2 separate regions of the Homo sapiens genome follow, and region 1 is linked to region 2. Evidence: promoter capture Hi-C in 16 types of primary human blood cells and fetal thymus (Javierre and others, 2016). All regions are on one chromosome and are shown on one strand. The core of a region is centred on a gene start or on the middle of the fragment in contact, and the rest is flanking DNA. Distances in the headings are between cores, read along the strand shown.

Region 1 (3,021 bases), core at 326-2,825, 890 kb after region 2:
GCAGTTGCCCTTAGATGGGTGAGTGTATCCCTGAAGCCCTCCACGCCCCCCTGAAGTCCTCCACCACACCCCACCTGGCCTGCCTTCTGGTCCCTGAAGTGCTGGCCAGTCCCCTCATTTTCTGAATGAAGTTACTGAGAAGAGACTCCTGGGTTACACAGGGACAGGAGGGTGGTGTCCCCAGCACGTGGGTAAGGCAGGCTCAGTCCTTGAGTGCTCCGAGGGAGGCTTTCTAAACCTCTTATTTAACTCCAGAAGAAAGCAGCCTTCTCGCAGGGCCATCCTTAAGCAACATGTCTTCGCCTGAACCAATATTTACAGAGCACCTGCTATGTTCTCGTTAGACAGCTTTGCCTGGCACTGCCTTCCTCTAAGGAGGCCGAATATGGTCCAGTGCCCCAAGGGGCAGGGCCCAACTCCTGAGGGAGGTCAGAGTGGCTGAGGTGAGACTGTGGTAGCCCCGGGGGACAGGTTCAGAGAAATCCAGGCTCTGGGGTTTCCCACATTGGAGTCCTGGGGCAAGTGGTTTGGGCCTTTCTGTGCCTCAGTCTCCTCATCTACGAAACGGGGATTAGAAGAGCCCCTTTCCAAGGGCTACCATGAGGATTAAACAAGTCAAAAAATGTGCCAGTGCTTAGAACAGTCCCTGGAATGTGTCAGTGCAACTGAGCTGGGGAGTGTCGTCGTTATTTTCCGGACCCACATGAACTGGCGCCTGCCCATCTCTCTGCCTCCATCTCCTGCCCTCTCCCCCATTGTTTCAGTTCATTGAGCATCCCCAGCTTTTTCTTGTGTCAGGAACTTTGCACTTCCTGTTCCTCTGTCTAGGATACGCTTCCCCTAGATCCTTCCATGGCTCCCCACTCTCCTCTTCTGGGCTCAGCTGAAACCCACTCCTCAGAGAAGCCTTTGCTGTTGCATCTGTTGAAAACAGGAGTCCCAGCCCACTCTGTCAGGCCACCTTGCTTTGTGTGAAATGGTCTTATCTGTTTCCTTGTTCATCTCCTCCAGCTCCCGAGAGACAGAAGCTGACCCTGTTTTGCTTATCGATGTATCTCCAGCACCTGGAAAAATGCCTGGCACATAGCAGGTACTCAATAAATACTTTACTCAATCAGCTAATTAACTCATTAATTAATCAAGTAACTGATCGATTGATTAATTAATTAATATCACTTCATTGAATTCCTTAAGGCCTTCAACAGCCTTCAGCTATGCAGTTGCCTTTTTTTTTAATGACTTTTGTAGTTCTCGGAAATTAGCCAGTTAACTAAAATCTGCGGTCTGCCTGGCCCTGACACCCTCCTCCACTTCCTTGATACTGACCTGCCTTGACCATCTCACCCAATCTAACTCTGATTCATGACCAAGTCTTCAAGGTCCAAATGTACGTGATGCTTACCCAAGAGGGCTGCAAGGCCATGGCTGGAGAGCCCTCATGTCACGCCATGCTGTCACTCGAGAGAGAAGGGCAGAGATGAAAGGGTGATGGGACACGTGAGCCACCTTGGCCTTGCTGAGGGGAGTCACTTCCGGTGGCAGGGAGGGCAGCTTAAGAAGGGAAAAAAAGACTTCGTCATGTTTGAGAGAGAGGTCTTGCCCTGGGGAAAGTCGAAGATACAGAAGAAAAGAAAGAGTGCTGATAACAAAATATGATCAACATGGTGTCACAGGGCTCCTGGAAAATCAAGTCAGATGCTTTTCCTCCTCTGCTCAGAGTCCTTTCGTGATCAAAGACGGAGAATGACTGCAGGCAAAGACCTGGAGGAGTTGGAAGCCTCTTGAGGTGCTTGTGGGATTGTAAAATGGTGCAGCCTCAAAAGGTAAACATAGGGGTCCCCTAAGACCCAGCAGTTCCACTCCTGGGTATATGCCCAGGAGAAAGGAAAGAGCATGTCCACACGGAAGCCTGGACACAAATGTTCACAGCAGCCAAGCAGTGAAAATAACCCACACCCCCATCAGCTGGTGAATAGGTAAATAAAATGTGGCATAACCACGCACTGGAATATGACTCAGCATAAAAAGGAATGAAGGGCTGACGCGTGCTACACCATGGATGAACCTTGAAAACATTGATAAGTGAAAGAAGCCAGACACAAAGGCCACATGTATGATTCTGCTTATATAAAATGTCCATAGTAGGCACATCTATGGGGACAAAAAGTAGACCAGTGGTTGCCAGGGGCTGGGGAGAATGAGGAGTGACTGCTACAGGTTTGGGGTTTCATCTTGGAGTGGTGAAAATGTTCTAAAAGTGACGGTAAAAGTGATGGTAATGATGGTTGCACAACTCCGTGAATATACAAAAAACCATCAAATTACACACTTTATTTACTTTTTCTTTTTTTCAAGAGACAGGGTCTCACTCTGTCACCCAGGCTGGAGTGCAGTCTTGAAGTCTTGGGTTCAAACCATCCTCCCGCCTCGGCCTCCTGACTAGCTTGGACAACAAGTATATGCCACTATGTACACCTGATGTTTTCATTTTTGTTGAGACAGGGTCTCACTTTGTTGCCCAGGCTGCTCTCAAAATTCTGGTCATCCTCCCACCCTGGCCTCCCAAAGCGCTGGGATTACAAGTGTGAGCCATCATGCCTGGCCAAATTATATACTTTAAATGGGTGAATGTATGATATGCAAATTATATCTCAATGAAAACTGTTATTTTAAAGAAATGGCCAGGCATGGTGGCCCATGCCTATAATCCCAGTGCTTTTGGAGGCTGAGGCAGGAGGATCCCTTGAGGCCAGGAGTTCGAGATCAGCCTGGGCAACACAGCCAGACACCATCTCTACAAAAAATAAAAAGTTAGCCAGGTAAAGTGGCACACACCTCTAGTTTCAGCTACTGAGGAGGCTGAGGTGGGAGAATCACGTGAGCCCAGGAAGTCGAGGCTGCAGTGAGTGAGCTGTGATTGTGTCACTGCACTCCAGCCTGGGCAACACAGTGAGACCCTGTCTCTCAAGAAAACAAAAAGAAAGAAACCTTTCCGTGGCTCCCACCTCATTCAGCATAAAA
Region 2 (2,867 bases), core at 322-2,821:
TTTAAAGCCTTCTTCCAAGCATATTTCACATAAGATGAACAGTTAGCCAAAAGAATTACATACATTTCAAAACATCTTTGGAGGTAAAAGCCACTTTAAACGTTAGCATCTTTTTCCTTACAATGCAATAGCGAGAAAATGCATGGGAATTCTTGATGAGCAAAAAAAAAAAAAAAGAAAAGTCGTTTTATCAATACCAATGCTCTTTAAATAAATTTCAAACGTAAAAGTTTTAAAATGGCAATCCTAGTTTTAATACTCTTACAGGTTTCTGGAACTGCGTAATATGTTAAAGTATTACAGCGTGGTAGCTTGCATTTTGTTATAAAACCGACTACTGCAACCTAAGCTACAGAGCGCGGTTATATTTTCTCTCTGGCAGCCTAATTTTCCTTAGTGGACTAGATCGTACTGCTAAATACCAAAACTTGAAATGAAACAATACAGGTCAGCATGAAAACCTAAGTTAGAGAAACTCACTCGCCGTAGCAGACGGCAGCCCAGTAGCCAAGCCTGGAGCTCTGCTGCGTTTGTGCATTCTGCTCCGTTTCACGAATCACAGGCAAATCGTTACTCAGAGTAAACTAAAGCCGCATCAAAGCTTCAGGAAGGGGCTGGCAAGGTAGTGTACTTACGGAAAGGCTACCAGGACGGGAGGCGATACAACTTGTCAGGGAGGGTCTCTAAGGTTCCCCGGGTGGTAACAAGCATTTAAAAAGGCGATGTGGATTCAGACGGCCTCCTCCCCACAGCATCCCAGACAAAGCCGGGCTAGGCCCCGGGGCGCTCCTGGTGCACCTGCAATGCGGATCCCTCGCCCTGCGATCCCACCCCGGGGCAGACAGGAGCGCCCCGGGACCGGCCTCTCCTCCCCCTTGGCACTGGGGTGGGCGCGCGCCGCGGCCGGTCCGCACCCTGGACTGGAGCCCGGGCCGGGGAGCCCCCTCCCCAGAAAGGGCCGGCAGACCCCGCGGGGGCGGGCGCGGGGGTCGCCGAGCCTCAGGGACCCTCTTTCCCCGACTCCGCCGTCTCCCGAGTTGCCTTCGCCCGGGGCCACCCCTGCCCCTGGGGGAGCTAACGTGGCTCCCAAGCCCCGGAGGTGGGGCAGGAGGACCCCGTCCCCCGTCTCCCGGCGGGGAGGGTTTTTAAAGTCTTCGCCACGAACTCCCGTCCCTGCCCGGCCCCTCCGCCCCTGCCCGGCCCCTCCGCCCCCGCCGGCGCTGCCAGGTGAGCGGGGCCGGACTCGACACACCCCGGGCCCCGCCTCACCTGCGGGCGCCGCCGTCGCGTTCCTTCAGGCGGCTGCCCTCTTAGGCTCGGTCCTCCCGGCGGGCGGCGGTGGGGGCCCGTGGCCCATGGGCTGGGCGGGGCGCGGCGGGCGGGGCTGCCTGGGCTCGGGCGCTGCCCGGGCCGGGCCGCCGAGGGAGGTCAGTGGGCACCGCCCGCCCGGCGCATCTCGCCCGCTCCCACCCCAGCGCTAGCCGCGGTGCACCCTGGGAGCGGGGCCGGCGGCGAGGCCTGGCCGCGCTGACCCGGCGGGCTAGGCGCCGGCGCGGCGGCGGGCCTGTGTCTGCCGGGCTGGGCGGGGGCGGCGGGCCGATATTCACTTGGCGAGGCGGGGCTACGCCCCCTTCCGCCCGGCTGTGGCGGGGCAGGGGCGAAGGCCGAGGGGAAGGGAGGGTCGGGCCCGCGGGACGCAGGCGCACAGCTCAGGTGCGGCCGCACTGCGGTTGCCCTGGGTAACGCGGCCCGAGGGAGGGGGGGGCGCGGGGAGGAGCGAGGGAGGCGAGCGGGAGCGCGCGCGCCGGGCGCTGGGGTGGGGGATGGCCGGGCCCGACCGGGCCGGGGCTGGGGGGCGGGGGCGGAGGCGGGCGGTGGGGGCGCGGGCCGGGTGGCCGCGCATGCGTGCGGCCCCCGCTCCCCCGGGGCTTCCCCGGCCTCGTGCGTGCGCACGCGCGCTGTCCCCCGGAGGCGTCTGGGTGTGCGGAGCGCGCGCGCGCGCGGCTCGGAGGCGCACCTGTGAGGTGTCCCTGAGGAGAGGGAGGTGGGTGCGCGGCGCCCGCGGCCTGGGGCGCTGACTCCCCTCACTTGGAGTGAGTTCTCGGCGGCCGGGCTGCAGTCTTTCTTTCTTTCCCGGAGGGAGGCGGGGGCCGGGGGCCAGGGAGCGGGCTGGGGGTGGGAAGGAGGTGGAGTGGCTTAAAGAAAAGAAAAACAACCCATCCCGGAGGATGGGCCTCGGGATGGCGGGGAAGGTCAGAGCGGCTCCGCGCAGCCTGGCGGGTCCCGGGCTGAGAAGCCGCCCCTCGGGCCTCGGGCGGTCGGCCGCGGGCCCGCAGTGCGGGGGAGCGGGGCCGGGGGGCGCAGATGGCGGCCGGTGCGAGCGAGGGCTGGGCAGCGGGCAGGGCGAGGCCGGGCGAGGCCCCTCGGGAGCCGGACTCCCGAGCCAGGCTCCATTGTTGTTGGAGCCGAGGGAAGGGGGAGCGCTGCCGCCCTCGTCGCCCGTGGAGCCGCGTCTTGGAGCCCTTCCAGGCGGGTCCCGGGAGAGGCGGTCATGGCCGCGCCAGGGGACCGGGGAGCCGGGCGGCTGCGGAGGAGCCGGCTGCATGGGGTGCTGTGTGTTTTTCAGGGCGCCCTGCGTCCGGCAGAGGAGGCGAGCATCCCGCTCAGGTGATGAGGAACCCCTCGCGCACCCAGCGCAGAAGGCTGCTGCCGCCGGACGCCTCCATTGTTTGACCACAACAAGGGCCGGATTCTCACCCAGGTAAACCGGCTGCCGGCGCTGTCCACTTCCCTCTGACTCCCGCCTCCGCAGGCGTTCTCACCCCTTCCAGGACTCGACTGCAGTTTTCTCACTGTCCCCGGCTTCT

The links. Contacts are between HindIII fragments. The CHiCAGO score rates a contact against its expected background, and 5 or more counts as called.
Region 1: a fragment that was not itself captured here is called in contact with the fragment with the promoter of CCDC92 in region 2 in 3 of 17 cell types (total B cells, activated CD4 T cells and monocytes); the score reaches 6.5 in total B cells.

What each region holds. Positions count from the first base shown.
Region 1 is chr12:124,865,587-124,868,607 of GRCh38, forward strand. LOC105370050 (a long non-coding RNA gene) reads left to right here. Exons shown (of 3, transcript XR_945488.3): 1 at 1-18; 2 at 1,012-1,090. Among named protein-coding and RNA genes, the nearest start is that of SCARB1, 3.2 kb to the left of the region's middle. RefSeq lists enhancers at 313-482, 911-2,110. The HindIII fragment of the contact is 4,035 bases long and covers 1-3,021 here.
Region 2 is chr12:123,971,260-123,974,126 of GRCh38, forward strand. CCDC92 (coiled-coil domain containing 92) reads right to left here and starts at 1,572. Exons shown (of 5, transcript NM_025140.3): 1 at 1,270-1,572. It overlaps ZNF664-RFLNA (ZNF664-RFLNA readthrough), which reads left to right and starts at 1,956. Exons shown (of 5, transcript NM_001347902.2): 1 at 1,956-2,044; 2 at 2,627-2,761. ZNF664 (zinc finger protein 664) reads left to right here and starts at 1,956. Exons shown (of 5, transcript NM_152437.3): 1 at 1,956-2,093; 2 at 2,627-2,761. RefSeq lists enhancers at 319-1,056, 1,057-1,794 and silencers at 1,015-1,134, 1,165-2,034, 2,105-2,184, 2,295-2,524. The HindIII fragment of the contact is 3,963 bases long and covers 600-2,867 here.